3 separate regions of the Homo sapiens genome follow, and regions 2 and 3 are each linked to region 1. Evidence: promoter capture Hi-C in human tissues and cell types (Jung and others, 2019). All regions are on one chromosome and are shown on one strand. Each heading gives the region's core, a stretch centred on a gene start or on the middle of the fragment in contact. The rest is flanking DNA. Distances are from core to core; before and after follow the strand shown.

Region 1 (5,111 bases), core at 916-3,415:
GATCAAAACCTTGACTCCATGGCCGGGCTCAGTGGCTCACTCCTGCAATCCCGGCATTTTGGGAGGCCGAGGTGGGCAGAACACCTTAGGTCAGGAGTTCAAGACCAGCCTGGCTAACATGGCGAAGCCCCGTCTCTACTAAAATTACAAAAATTAGCCACACGTGGTGGCAGGTGCCTGTAATCCCAGCTACTCGGGAGACTGAGATGGGAGAATCGCTTGAACCTGGGAGGTGGAGGCTGCAGTGAACTGAGATCATGCCACTGCACTCCAGCCTGGGTGACAGGGAAAGACTCCATCTCAAAAAAACAAAAACAAAACTTGACTCCACACAAAGATACTGCGAGCCTCCCTCAGGTTAGGTGGTTCAGTTTCCATTCAATGACCATTTTAACCAGCTTCTAACCACAAGGGATCTGAACCTTTAGGGCAACATTCACTGGTCCAGCTCAACTAATGTTTACTGGGTGCTCACTGTGTATCTGGCACTGTGATAAGCACAGTACATCTCATTTAATCCCCAAAATTGGGCCCATTATTATCCCTATTTTACAGATGAGGTCACTGAGGCTAGGAGAGGTTAAGTAACTTGCCCAGTTTCACAGCTGGGAAGCTGTGTTGGAACCTAGACAAAATGAATCCAGCGCCTATTCTAACCAGTTATCCAAACAATATCCTACCAGGTTTCCCTGCTTCCAGTCCCATCGAATATACATGCCAGAGCTAGAGCAATCTTTCTAAACACCACTAAGCTTATGTCATTTTGCTGGTTAAAATCCTTCAGTGGGCAGGGTGTGGTGGCTCACGGCTGTAATCCCAGCACTTTGGGAGGCCAAGGTGGGTGGATTAACTGAGGTCAGGAGTTCGAGACCAGTCTGGCCAACATGGTGAAACCCCGTCTCTACTAAAAATACAAAAAATTAGCCAAGTGTGGTGGCGGGTACCTACAATCCCAGCTACTTGGGAGGCTGAGGCAGGAGAATCGCTTGAACCCGGGAGGTGGAGTTTGCAGTGAACCCTGATCGATCCACCGCACTCCAGCCTGGGCAACAAAAGCAAAACTCCGTCTCAAAAAAATAAAAATAAATTAAATTAAATCCTTCAATGACATGCCTCACCACCACTGAGGTAAAATTAACATGCAAGGCCTTTAGTAACTAGCCTCCTGCCAATTCTTCCCGTCTTCCCTTCTTTCTTCCTTTCTCCTCCAGCAACTTTTTCTCAGTCAACAAACGCAGAAAAATCCAGTAACTTTTTAAATCTTGTTACCCTTCAGCCTTTGTTCCTTCAGTTCTCCGGGTCTGTAATATTCCCCCCATTTTCGCCGGGAACATTCTTGCTAATCTTTTAGGAATCTGCTCAGGAACCATCTATTTGAGAAAACATTCTTACCCCGCCCCGCTGCCGTTACTTTTACCGAATGACCACACTGAATTATATTATGTGTCCCCAGCTACCTCTGTGAAGGAAGCAAACATATTTCAGAGAGTAGCCCCAGCGCCTGAGAAGTCAGGCACAGGCAAACACGGAAACGTGATGAGCAACTGAGTGGAGCTCTTCCTCCATTCGCCATCACCCTCCTCCGCCCTCCTCTCCATCCAGCAGACCTAGCGAGACTCTAGCGTGGTCCACGAGCCCCTTCCACCCACTTCCGCCAACTCTTTCTCAGACTCACAAACTTCCGCAAGTCTGAGCCTTTTACCGGGTCCCCCTGCGGCTCCAGTGCCTGCTCCGAAGCCCGGGACATATATTTATTCGGCAAAAGTTAACTTAGTGCCTACTGGGTCCCAGGAATTATGGCTACAGCGGTGTCGAGAGCCGCGGTTCTACCCTCGCCCCTGCCGAGCGACCTCGGCCTCCGACACCGGTTCCAACCTTTTCCTCGACCCCATGCCTAGCCGAACCGCCAAGGTCCTGGTCTTTCCCGCCCAGACCGAGCGGCCTCGGCCCAGGCCTTCACCGCCCTAAGTGGCTCCAACCCACGGCTTCCTCCCCGATCAGTCGCGGTTCCCACTCCACAACAGACTCGGAAGCTCCCGCGCCGCCAGCCTGTGCCCTCCTTACCATGGTGGCGGTTCTGATGGCTCTGATACCCGCCGGATTCGCCTCCTCAGAGGCCTAGCCTCTCTCCCACAGCCGATTTCCCGCCGCCGCTACCGGAAATGCAGCACCACGTAAAATGCGGTCGGGTAGAAACCTACTTCCGGTCCAGCTCACTAGCCCTGGAGTTCCGGCCCCGGAGCGGAGCTTCTGCCGAGCAGAGGCGGGGCCTGGGGACTGGGCGTTAACATCCGGCTTTGACGTAAGGAGAGCCTTAAGTTCCTGTTTGGACACCTTCCTAGCTTAAATCCGTACTGAGAGCTGCTCTGTGTCACACTCATTTCTCTTCACCCCGCCTTTCCCATTAACCTCTCGGTCCTCATTTCCCATCACCCTCCCCGGCTCTCTCCTCTACAGTCACTATTCTTGCTTTTCCCTCCACTGGCTGGACGTGCTCCTTTTTCAGCCCCTCTGCATTTGCTTTCGCCTCTGCCTGGAATGGTAGTCCCCAAGGTATACCAGAAGGCTGCTGCCCTCACCTCTTTCAAGGTTTAAGCTTAAATAACATTTTCCCAGTGAGGATTTCCCTAGCCATCCTGTAACCTTCCCACCCACCTCATCCTCATCTCTCCTGTATTTCCCTCTTGCTATCTAACACGCTGTATATTTTTGTTAGTTATTTTATTATCCCCTCCCCATTAGAATGTAAGATCCATAAGGGTGTGAATTTTTCTCTTTGTGTATTACTCATTGCTGTAGTGCCTAGAACACTTTAGCACAAAATAAGGGCTCTACCCATATTTGCTGATAATCGCATCCAGTCGTATGACATTTATTTTTTTTCTATGACTTTTTTTTTTCTTTTGAGACAGAGTCTCAGTCTGTCACCAAGGCTGGAGTGCAGTGGCACAATCTCGGCTCACTGCAACCTCTGCCTCCCCGGTTCAAGCGATTCTCCTGCCTCAGCCTCCCGAGTAGCTGGGAATACAGGCCTGTGCCACCACACTCGGCTAATTTTTGTATTTTTAGTAGAGACGGGGTTTTGCCATGTTGGCCAGGCTGGTCTCGAACTCCTGACCTCAACTCCTGGTCTCGAACTCCTGATCCACCCACTTTGGCCTCCCAAAGTGCTGGAATTACAGGCGTGAACCATCACACTGGGCCCTTCCTATGACTTTTAAATACAGCATATACACCCAAGGCTTTCAAGTTTGTTCCTCTAACCTTGGTCTCTTCATTTAACTCTTGGCCCTTTATATCCAGCTGCCAGCGTGATGTGAATGTCTAATAGGTATACCAAATTTAACATGTTGAAAACTGAATTCTTGATTCTATTCACTGTTTCTAAAACCACTTCACCAGTGTTCCCCATCCCCGAAGTTTCTTGGATTAAAAAAGAAAAAAAAGAAAATGACAAATTTGAAGCATATTTCATTCTTCTCTTTCTCTGCCATCGAATAATCAAATTCATCAGCAAATCCTGTGGCCCCCACCTTCAAATTATCTTGAATATGATTGTTGTCACCCACTCCATTGCGTCCACTCTAGTCATAGCCACCATCGTCTCTGTCTTGGATCATTGAACGAGCCCGTAACTTGTCTCTTTGCTTCCTTTCTTGTTCTCACGGCAGCCAGAGGGATCCTTCTAAACGTACTGGGATATCAGATGATGTCATGTCCTGGTCTCCACTTACCAAAAACTTCCCAGCACACATGGAATAAAATCTAGCTCTGCGCTCCTCTCCAACCTCATTCATCTCCGTCAACATTGCCCTCATTCATCCTTCTCCAGTCACACTAATCTCCTTGCTGTTCCTCAAACCCAGCAAGGAGAGCTTCCACCTTGGTGCTTTGCCATCTTCACACCATCTCTAAAGGGTGTGTTCTGTTGTCCCGTTTCCTGTCACCTGTAGATGAAGAGGCGAAGCCTCATAGAAATGAATTATGTTGCCCAAAGTGGCGGAGTCAGAGTGGGAATATAGGTCCGTCTGGCTCCTCAGCTGTTCATTTGCCCCCACCTTACCCAGCTGCCTAACACTTCATTCATGCATGCATTTAAAATCATTTTTATTTAGCATCTACTAAGGCCATGCACCATTATTGGGATAGAGTCCTTTCCCTCACGGAGCTTTACATCCTACTGAGAAAGACATAGTAAACCAAATAAATAAGTATGCAATGTAACATTAGAGTGATATGAAAAAAATAAATAAAGGCAGAGGAACTGAGAGGGATAGGGTACAGTTTTGGCTAGGTGGTCAGGGGAAACTTCTCTGAGGAGTGGTATGTGAGCAGAGACCTGAACCTACACTCAGGTCTATCAGAAGGATGAATATTATGAAGGACATTCTAGAAAATGTATATAAAGGGAATCATATAATAATACGTGGTCTTTTGTGACTACCTTCTTTCACTTAGCACAATGTTTTTAAGGCTCATCCATGTCATGACACGTATCAATACTCCATTCCTTTTTATGGCCAAATAACATTCCATTGTATGGATGTACAGTAGTCCCCCCATATCCATCTTTCACTTTCTGTGGTTTCAGTTACCCACAATCAACTGCAGTATAAAAATAGGTGAGTACAGTACAAGATATTTTGAGACCACATTCATATAACTTTTATTACAGTATATTTTTATAACTGTTCTATTAGTATTGTTAATCTCTTACTGTACCTAATTTATAAATTAAACTTTATCATAGCTATGTATGTATAAGAGAAAATAGTATATATAGGGTTTGGTAGTATCTGCCGTTCCATGAATCCACTGGTGATCTTGGAATATAACCTCCTCAGATAAGGAGGGAACTACCATATTTTATCAGTTCATCAAATGACGAACATTTGGATTGCTTCCACCTTTTGGCTGTTATAAATAATGCTGCTGTAAACATCGTGTACAAGTCTTCACGTGGACATGCTTTCATTCCTCTTTGGTATCCAGATAGGAGTGGAATTTCTGAGTCATATGATAATTCTGATTAACCATTTGAAGAACTGCCAGACTGTTTTCCAAAGTGGCTTCACCATGATACATTCCCACAAGTGGCGTATGAGGGTTCT
Region 2 (5,111 bases), core at 802-3,301, 580 kb before region 1:
GGCACCTTCCCTGCCCCCCTGCACAACAGCAGGGCCATGCCTTCACCAGGAGGCTCGGGGCAGGAGGGGAGGCAGTGGTGTTACTTTGCACAGGTCTTTAACCTGGGAATCAGGAATTCAAATCTTGTTTCTACCCCAAGCTTTGCTGTGTGGCCTTAAGCAAACCTATTCCCTCTCCGGGCCTCAACTTTCTGTCCATTTACAGGGTTGGGCCTTCTCTCACCTTGTGTCATTCCTGTCCTCTTAACCGCCACTGTGTGAACCAAAATTCTCTCCCATTAGCAGCGGGGTCTTGAACTTGTGTTCCTCCCACAGTGCGGAGCCTTCTGCCAGGTGACCACGACACTGGCACTCCCCATCACTGACCTGGCTACTACAGGAACGGCGTTCCCTCCGGGAAAACCGGGGTTCTGTCCTCTCCAACTCCAGGCCTCTGGCCCCGGCTCCCCTTCCCCTCATCTTCCTCAGGGCTTGTCCTTCTCCCGGAACCCAGGCCTTCAGGGCCCCGCTCTCCCACACACGCCCCGGCCTGGGCCTCCCACCCGCCCAGTCCGCCCTCCACCACCGAGACACCTGGCCAGGGGGCCTCCACCTCCCTGGGAAGGCCCCGACCCTTCCCCTCTGGTTGCGCGCCACAGCCCCCTTCTCGCTCCCTCTCCTCCCCGCGCCTCTTTTCCAGGCGGCACCGAAGTCCTTCCTACACACACGCTATTTTTGTACCATCATCTCTTCTTCCTCTCCCCTTCCCCCTGCGTTCACTTACTTCCTTCTTTTCCTTCACCTCGGCCCGGCTCTGAAAGGATCGGGCCCCTCCGGCCCGCACCCACCCCCAAGAGGGGCCTTCAGCTTTGGGGCTCAGAGGCACGACCTCCTGGGGAGGGTTAAAAGGCAGACGCCCCCCCGCCCCCCGCGCCCCCGCGCCCCGACTCCTTCGCCGCCTCCAGCCTCTCGCCAGTGGGAAGCGGGGAGCAGCCGCGCGGCCGGAGTCCGGAGGCGAGGGGAGGTCGGCCGCAACTTCCCCGGTCCACCTTAAGAGGACGATGTAGCCAGCTCGCAGCGCTGACCTTAGAAAAACAAGTTTGCGCAAAGTGGAGCGGGGACCCGGCCTCTGGGCAGCCCCGGCGGCGCTTCCAGTGCCTTCCAGCCCTCGCGGGCGGCGCAGGTCCGGGCCCGGCAGGGACGGGGAGGGGCAGAGCGGGACCGGTCGGGGCTGGGGACCAGCCGCGCGGGCTTCTGAACGGGCACGCTGTCGGAGCCGGAGGCTCGTCTAGTCCCGAGCCCCAGCGGGCCGCGGCGGCTCGCGGGGCCGCCTTCCCGGGACAGCAGCCGGGGCCCGGGCGCCGGCGCGGGGGAGGACGCTGCCCTCCCCGGCCGGGCGCGCAGCTCGCAGCCCTCGCTCCCTCCCCCGGGGCGCGCAGGCGGGCGCTCGCTCGCAGAGAAGGTGCCGGCGGGGCCGGAGCCCCGAAGCCTCCCCGGGCGGCGGGAAGACGGGAGGAGGGGAAAGGGAAGGAGGGAGGGGGTCGGGCTGCCGGGAGGGCGGGGGCAGCGGCCGGGACTGCGGGCCGGGAGCGAGCCCAGCCGCCCGCGCCGTGTGGAGCCCGGGCGGGGCAGGTGGGCAGCGGCGGGGGCGGCTCCGCGCGGCCGGGCTCGGCCGTGCTGCCCCTCGCCCCTGCTCGCGCGGTCCTCTCTCCCGCGCGGTCTGTCGGTCTGCGCGCCGCCTCGCTCCTCGCTCCTCGCTCTCCCCCTCTTTCTCCCCCTCTCGCCTCTCCGTGTCTCTGGCTCTCTGCCTGGCTCCCTTGGGTCTGTTTCTCTCTCCTGCCGCCTCTCTCTGGCCGCCCCTGGCTTTATTTCTCGCGCGCTTGGGGTCTCTCCCAGTCTCCGTCTCTCCATTTCTCCTGGGGGGCGGGGAGGGGGGGTCTCCAAAAACCGCGGCGGCGGCGGCGGCCGCTCCAGGCGCCCGTTCCGGAGTCGGGGGGAGGCCCAGCCGGGAGGGGGGAAGGGGGGGAGCCTTAGTCATTTCCCCGCTCCAGCCTGCTCCCGCCCGAGCGCGCACTCACGGCCGCTCTCCCTCCTCGCTCCGCAGCCGCGGCCCATGGAGCCCGCCGGCCCGGCCCCCGGCCGCCTCGGGCCGCTGCTCTGCCTGCTGCTCGCCGCGTCCTGCGCCTGGTCAGGTAAGCACCCCCCCGCTCCCCACCGCTGCACTCCCCAAACTGCGGGCTCAGGCCTCTCAGACTGGCACTGGGACCCCTTCGGCTAATGCCGAGCAGTAATAGGGGGAGAGACGCCTGTAACCAGGGTTATAGATGCAGAAACTGAGGCCCAGAGAGGGCCAGCGACATGCCCAAGGTCACACAGCCAAGGGTAGAACCCAAGTCTCTTCTATGAGAGTTTGTCTCTGTGGACTCTGACTCTGTGCACTGTGCTGGGCACTGAGACAAAAGAGCCGAGTTGCTTCACTCAGCCCCTGCCCGGTCCAATGGGGAAGGCTGACTGACAGTGGCTTTCAGAGCAGGGCCGTCCGGCTTCCCCAGAATCTGTCCCCATGGACATACGACTTTCCACATGTTTGACTTCAGGGTGTGAGGGGAGGAGGTGAGGGCAGAGGTCCTCCCGATGCTGCCTGGAATGGAACAGAGACAAGCTGTTGCAATTAGGGAAGAGTGAGCCCTCCCTCTGGTGCGCAGAGTAAACCGGTGTTAGTGTGTGCCTGGGAGAGAGGGAGCCGGGAGGCCGCGGTAACCCCAGAGCGAGCTGCTGCGAGCAACAGATCCTTATGTAAAAACACGGTGGATTGTCCCTGTGGTTGCCAAAGCCTCTCCCTGGTGGTCTTGCTCCTTGAGGCGCTCCCAGCTCCCCCTTCCTCCTGCCTTCCCCGAGCTTCCAGGCAGCTCCCTGCAGTTCAGGTGCTCCGCGGGGATGTTACCTGTGGCTCTGACCATGTCTTTCTGTTGGCCTACATCAAACACCTGGCTGTCGCCGGCAGGCGGGCTCTGAAGGCTACTGTGCATGTTCACCAAAGGGTGAGGTCACCATTCAGGAGTCTTGCTTCTTAAATGGGTTTTGCAAAACCATGGGTCTCCTGGGAGGGCACCGGGTGGGGGGCGGGGGGAGCAGAGAAATGGCATTAAGGGAGTTGGGAGGGAGAGAAAAATGGGGATCTTGTTTTTTGTCGTCTTGAAACTGTGTTGTAGGCAGTGGGGTCTCTCTGTACCTCCCACCCTTGAGGAGGGAGGTAAAGATGAGCTCAGTGTCCAACACCCCCTTTTGCGTTTGACTAGAGATGGTAACCATCTGATAGCAGGGAGAAAGGGAGAACTAGCAAAGAGTGGGTGGAAGGAGAAGTATGGGGGGTAGACAGCTGCTTCTCTCTGCCCTGCAGTTTCCCCTGAAACCCAGGAATTCACATAGGCATCCCCCCACCCCACCCCACCCTCCACCCCCAGTTCTTTTCAGTTATAGTTGCGTCCTTGCTGGGCTGAAGGGAGCACTGATACAGTTCACGTCTCTCCAGTGAGTGGCATCTCCTATCTGCTCCTTCCTGCCTGAGCTGGCCATTTGTACCCTGCAAAAGTCCGAGTTCCTGCCCTGCCATCCTTCCTGGCCTGGAAATGCACAAGTGTCACTCACAAGTGCTTAATTTTCCTGAAGCAGGGAATTGGGCCCGAGTTAATTTCTAAATGTCTATTCCAGACCCTTCTCCGACCAGGAGGCTGTGGTTCAGTCCCTGGCAAACGAGCAGTGACGCTGATTAGCAAGTGCTCCGATGGGCAGCCTGCCTTTCCTGGGGCACCGGCTGGGAACACCAACACCTTTCTTGTGAGCACATCTCCCCCTTTTGCCTATAAAAACAGTCTATAAGATGGTAAAGATTGGGCCATAAAACTTCCGTTCCAATCCATTCAGCATCAATAGCCTGAAAAAGTGGGAGCAGCAGAGGGGCCAAGATTAGCTTTGAAATAAATAAATCTTAGGAGGTAAGAATGAATTTCTTGGTCGAGGGTGGTGGGGAAGGGATGAGGTGCGACCATCATAGCTCAAGTCTCCCATTATCCTTCAGTATCTGTTCTTCGGGGTCCTGGTCACACCATGGGCCTGGGCAGGGAAGTCACCTGGTTTGGCTGAAGGATGGGGCCTCAGGCCCCTCCCCCTATTGCTCCAGACATGGAATTTACAACAAAGAAGTAGAGAGACAGGATATGAGGGTAGGAAGGTACAAGGAGGCAGTTGTCCAATTTTCTAAGAAAATGGATTTGTTCGAGTGAGAAACTAAAATGTCAGGTTTAGGAAGGCGGCTTTGGATTGAATGACTACTAGTGTCTCAGGCAGAACTGTCAGCCTGGGAGGTGTCACATGATTCCTGTGTCTTCACATGATCACTGTTTTGGGGGGGTGGGGCCAATCATGTGAATTATCCTGGGTGGGGGAGGCAAGAGAAGAAGTTTCTAAAGATTGCTTTTAGCACAAATGCTGCCAAAGGGAAATTCTAAAAAGATCCCAGTGAAGTCACCAACCTATGTTTTTGGACCCAATGTGAGGCCTGTTTCCTAAAACAACTGCACTGAGGGAGATTCTGAGGCTGGGAGAAGGGCAAGGGACTGAGGCCTGGGGACACCTGGCACCTGATTTTGTGTCAGCAGGGCCTGACGCTGAACCCGCAGGATGCCTGCTTGGCCCCAGGTAGGCCTTGAGACCTCTGAGTCACCCCCCAGGCCGACCTCAGATAAACTCCCATTCATTTCTTCTCTCTGGCCTGGAGGAGGCCAAGCCAAGTTGCAGTTCAGGCTCTGGGGAGCAGCGGGGCCCCCCAGTGAACCTCTCACCGTTTGGTAGAGGGTGGCACTCTGGGGGCTCCTCTGTACTTTCCTAAATGGTAAAGTTAATCTCACTTCCTCTTTCGTAAGAAGAGAAAACGGGGCGGGAGTGCTTTGGCTCAACACATCAGGCTGTTGGAAGTTCCTTTAAAGCCATAGTTTTCTCTGAGTACTTTCTGGCCTTTACCAACCCCTCGGAAACTCACGGTAATTCACGTCTGTACTTGCAGTCATGCAGCACCTATGCAGTGCTGGTGTGAACCATGTGTTGAGAGAAGGGAGGAAAACCAACATTCATTA
Region 3 (5,111 bases), core at 1,585-4,084, 510 kb before region 1:
GCACAATCATAGCTCAACTGCAGCCTCAAACTCCTGGGTTCAAGTGATCCTCCTGCCTCTGATTACCAAGTAGCTGGGACTGTGGACACATATCACCATGCCTGGCTAATTTTTTAAAAAAATTTTTTGTAGAGACAGGATCTTGTTTTGTTACCCAGGGTAGTCTCAAACTTCCGGCTTCAAGTGATCCTCTCACCATGGCCTCCCAAAGTGTGGAATTACAGGCATGAGCCACCATGCCTGGCCTTGTTAAATACAATTTCATATGCCTTTTTCTTTTACTAATCTGTCTATTATAGTTCGTTTTCAGCAAACCTTAAGAGGACAGAGGAGAAGCTTCCCTTCGGCCCTTACAATTGCACAGTGGCTCTCAAAACTGAGCATACATTCACCTGGAAGGGTTGCTCAAACATAGATTGCTGGGCCCCACCCCCAGAGCTTTTGATCAGGAGGTCTGGGACCAGGCCTGGGATTTGGCACTTCTAACAAGTTCCAGGTGATGTGGGGCTGCTGGTCCAGGGACCACACCTTGGGAAGCACTGGACTCAGTGTTCTAAGATTTCCTGAGCACCAGTAGTTGGAATCCAGCTCTGCCACCCACTACCTGCCCACAGGGAAGTTAGGCTGCCTCTCCATGATGCAACTTCTGAGTCCACAAGGACAGTACCTGCCTCATAAGATTATTATTATTATAAGGATTATATGAGTTAATTAGTAAAGCACACAAGAAGTATTAATTATGATGAATATGCATATAATTGTTTAATCAAGATTTCTTAACAATTGTTCAAAAACATTTTTCAAGTCATTATTCTTCAATGTATTTGCTTTCAAAGGCTGTGGGCTTATCCTTCATAGTGATGTATTTATCTAGTCCACAGTCTTCAACTAAACAGTGCTGCAATGAGCATTCTCATGGATAAATCACAGTGCACCTGTCTGCTTATTTCCTTAGGATATAATGTGCTAAATGTGAAATTGCTGAGAAAAATTACATGAGCATATTTAAAACTTTTGATATGTTTTGCTAAATGGCCTTCCAGAAAAATTATACTGATTTATAATGCTACCAGCAGTATATGAGGTCATCTTTTCCTTATATTCTTATTAATATCCCATGTTATTGGTTTTTTAAAATTATGCCAATACTTTGTTTGTTAATTTGAATTTCTTTGATGACTACTGAAGTTGGATGTCCCAGCTTCAATATCTCAGGACTTTAAATATTTTTTAAAATCCCTCAAAGCTTGTGTTTACAGAATGTTAACCAGCCCTTTTCTCCTCAATGAATGAACTCTGTGTCTTGGCAGGTCTCTTGTAGTAGCAGAGGCATCATCTCACAGGTAGCAGCTGCTTGATTTAAATCCCACCTGTGCTGCTGGTAACATACCTCCCATTTAATAGATGGGTGTGGACTAGAGGAGGATGAAACATTAAGAGAGCAAACAGAAGGAGAGAAGTTATTTGTTCCACAAAAATTCTCTCAACATCTCTTACAGGTCAGGCCCTCTGCTAAACTTAGAGGATGCAAAGACAAGGAAGTCTCAAAGTGCAGGGTGGTGGGGTGGGAGAATACACACAAAATAATGTGAAATATAACAGTGCAAATGAAAACAATGGGGTAGGAATCTAATGAAGGAAATGATGGTATCTTTGAAGTCAGAGAGGACCTGGGTTCAAATCCTGTTTCTTTCAACTCCTAGCTTTGGACAGTAATATGCAAAGACTATTTTTAGGCTTAAACTAGTTAAAATGACAGGTAAAAAATACCTGGAAACAAGTAAAGTTTCCTGTTTCCAGGATTCTCACAATTGCAGCCCAAGGGCCAAATATGGCATATAGAAGGTCTTGTTTGGTGCATCCAGTATTTTTGAAAAAAAAATTTAGTAGAGGAATTAGGATGGCTTAGACCAATAGATCCTGGTTGCCCAACTTAAACCCCTGGAAATATATTTGTTCCTCTAGAAGAGATCTGGGTTCATTCACTGACTTCTCCTTCTGGTCAAGGTGGAATAACAGAGAATGGGTTTATCCTCTTAGCTGAAACAAAAAAATCTGGGGAAAACATATGAATCAACAGTTTTCAAGACATTGGACATCAGGCAACACAGAACCGTGATCCCTGAGAGAGAGAAAACAAAAGAGAGCCTAGCAATTGCCTCTGCTTACTATCTGGAGAGAGTTTTCAGGCCACGGCACAGGACAGGGAGTCCAGGTAGGGCCCGGGGGTCTTCCTGAGTTGAAGAGATGGAGCTGGGTGGCTGCTATGGTTAGAATGTTTTTGTCCCCTGTAAAAAATTATGTTGAGGCTGGATACAGTGGCTCACGCCCTTAATCCCAACACTTTGGGAGGCCAAGGCAGGAGGATTGCTTGAGGCCAGGCGTTCAAAATAAGCCTGTACAACATAGTGAGACCCCATCTCTACAAAATAAAATTTTTTTAAATAGCCAGGCATGGTGATGCACACCTGTAGTCCCAGCTACTCAGGAGGCTGAGGTGGGAGGAACACTTGAGTCTAGGAGACTAAGGCTGCAATGAGGCATGGTTATACCGCTGCACTCCAGCCTGGTTAACAGAGCAAAACCCTATCTCCAAAAAAAAAAAAAAATTAAATTTATGTTGAAACCTAACCCCTAATGCAATAGTGTTGGGAGATGGGGCCTTTTGGAAGGTGTTTAGTCATGAGGACTCTGCCCTCATGAATGGATTAATGTTGTTATAAAAGGGCTTCATGAAGGTAGTCTATCCTTTTGCCCTTCTGCCCTCTGCCATATAAGGACATGGCATTTCTCCCCTCTGGAGGACACAGCATTGAAGGCGTCATCTTGGAAGCAGAGAACAGCTCTCACTAGACATCCAACACTGGCATCTTGATCTTGAACTTCCCAGCCTCTAGAACCATGAGAAATAAATTTCTGTTCTTTATAAATTACCCAGACTTGGGTATTTTTGTTGTAGCAATGCAAACGCATTAATCCAGAGGCCAAGGTGTCTGGAGTTCACAGGGCAGAGTATCACTGAGAAGAGAGCTTGTGGGGAGGAGCAGGTTCAAGAGCACAGGTGACCTCTGGCGATCAGCAGAGAGCCCCTCCTGTCTTCTGAGTACTAATGAGCATGTGCATGTATGAAACCTACCTGAGGAGCAAAGAACCACCTGATTAGATTAGAGGGAACAACCCCAGGTTCCCCCACAGGGCTGGGAATAGTCTCTGTTCTTAGGAGCCAGAGTGAAAAATCTCACAGGGCTTTAGGCAGAGGATTCACAAGGTTTCTTCCTTAGTAGCTGGACAAAATTTGCTCTAAACATGGATATGGTTCCATCTAAAAATGTTTAAAAGCAAAGATTAAACTAATTCCAAGGAACTTGACTGTGTCCCAGAAAAAAAAAAATCAAACATATTTATAGAAACACACACAAAAAAACCTAGCACATGATGATGTAAATTCAGTGTCTGGTATCCATTAAAAAAATTGCCAGGCATGCAAAGAAGCAAGGAAATTCAATCCATTAATGAGGAGAAAATTTGATCATTGGAAACTGACCCGGAAATGACACAAATGATAGAACTGATAAATAAAGACATTAAAACCATGATTATAGCTGTATTTCATAGGTTCAGGAAACTAGAGGAAGGACTGAGTTACTAAATTGTGATATGGAAGACAGCAAAAAGGCTCGTATAAAAAAGATTAGTGAAATTAAATATATAGCAAGAGAAACTATCCAGAATGAACCATAGAGAAAAAAAAGACTGAAAAAAAAAAATGAACAGAGTATCAGCAAAATGTGGGACAACTTCCAGTATAATATACATATACACACAACACACAACACACACACCCTCACACATAGGTATGTGTATAAGCAGATAGACATATTTATAAGCAGATAAATATATACATATGTGTATATATGTGTGTGTATATATAGATCAAATATATATATATATATATATGAGAGAGCTTGAAGGAGAAATAATGGTTGAAAATTTGCCAAATTTGATGTAAACAAAATTCACAGACTGAAGAAACCCAGTGAACCCCAAGCACATTAATTCATCACAGTCTCTACCTTCTACTTCCGACTGATATTATACCACTTTGCCTTACGAGATTATACTTGAGACTCTCACAACATTAAGCAAATGACACCAAGGGCCATTATAATCAAATTACTCAAAACTAGACATAAACTAAAAACCTTAAAGGCAGCCAGAAAATAAAAAACCCAGGTTATATATACACATGAACAAATATAAGGCCGGCATCAGATTTCTCAAAAGAAACAATGCAAGTAAGAAGACAGTAGAGTAGCATCCTTAAAATGCTCAGAGAAAAATAAAGTCAACCTAGAATTCTACATCCAGCAAACATGTCTTTTTAAAAATGAAAGCCTGGGCAACGTGGCAAAACCCCATCTCTACAAAAAACACACACACACACAAATTAGCCGGGCATGGTGACACATGCCTGTAGTCCCAACTACTCAGGGGCTGAGATGGGAGAATCACCTGAGCCTGGGGAGATCAAGGCTGTAGTGAGCCAAGATCATGCCACTGCATTCCAGCCTGAGTGACAGAATGAGAACCTGTCTCAAAAAAAAAAAAAAAAAAAAAATCAAACTAAAGATGTTTTCAGATATCCAAAGGCAGGAAGAATTCATCACCAGCATACCTGTATAGAAAAAAAGTGTTGATAAGTCCTTTAGGCAAAAAAAAAAAAAAAAAAAGATACCAGATGGGAGTCTGACTCTACACAAAGGAATGAAGAGCACTGGAAATGACAACTATGGGCAAATAAAACCCCTCTTTTCTCTTACTTTAAAAATCACTTTAAAAACAAATTTGACTATTTAAAGCAAAAATAACAACAGTGTACTGTGGAGTTTATAATATATGAAGCAATACTATGTATAACAAAAACAATACAAAGGCCAACAGGGGAGAAATGGGAGTATAATGTTGTAAGGTTCTGATTCTGTATGTGAAGTGGTATAATATCATCTGAAAGCAGACTGTGATAGGTTAGAGATGTGTATTATAAACTCCAAAACAACTGCTAAAATAATTCAACAAAGAATTATAGCTAATAAGCCAACAAAAGAGATAAA

The links. The method cuts DNA at HindIII sites, captures the fragments that hold promoters and counts their contacts. A contact is called where the count stands out against the background at its distance.
Region 2: a contact is called between the fragment with the promoter of SIRPA here and the fragment with the promoter of SNRPB in region 1, in 3 of the 25 tissues and cell types used here (aorta, dorsolateral prefrontal cortex and lymphoblastoid cells).
Region 3: a fragment that was not itself captured here is called in contact with the fragment with the promoter of SNRPB in region 1 in 3 of the 25 tissues and cell types used here (hippocampus, lymphoblastoid cells and mesendoderm cells).

What each region holds. Positions count from the first base shown.
Region 1 is chr20:2,468,624-2,473,734 of GRCh38, forward strand. It overlaps SNRPB (small nuclear ribonucleoprotein polypeptides B and B1), which reads right to left and starts at 2,166. Exons shown (of 7, transcript NM_003091.4): 1 at 2,065-2,166. The coding sequence starts at 2,067. RefSeq lists enhancers at 1,786-1,905, 2,066-2,115, 2,126-2,175. The HindIII fragment of the contact is 7,557 bases long and covers 170-5,111 here.
Region 2 is chr20:1,893,356-1,898,466 of GRCh38, forward strand. SIRPA (signal regulatory protein alpha) reads left to right here and starts at 2,052. Exons shown (of 8, transcript NM_001040023.2): 1 at 2,052-2,171. The coding sequence starts at 2,093. It overlaps LOC102724545 (a long non-coding RNA gene), which reads right to left and starts at 895. Exons shown (of 4, transcript NR_186374.1): 1 at 764-895. RefSeq lists silencers at 1,016-1,275, 1,286-1,405 and an enhancer at 2,697-3,212. The HindIII fragment of the contact is 18,060 bases long and covers 1-5,111 here.
Region 3 is chr20:1,955,843-1,960,953 of GRCh38, forward strand. All of the region lies in intron 2 of PDYN-AS1 (PDYN antisense RNA 1), which reads left to right. Among named protein-coding and RNA genes, the nearest start is that of PDYN-AS1, 11 kb to the left of the region's middle. The HindIII fragment of the contact is 7,949 bases long and covers 1-5,111 here.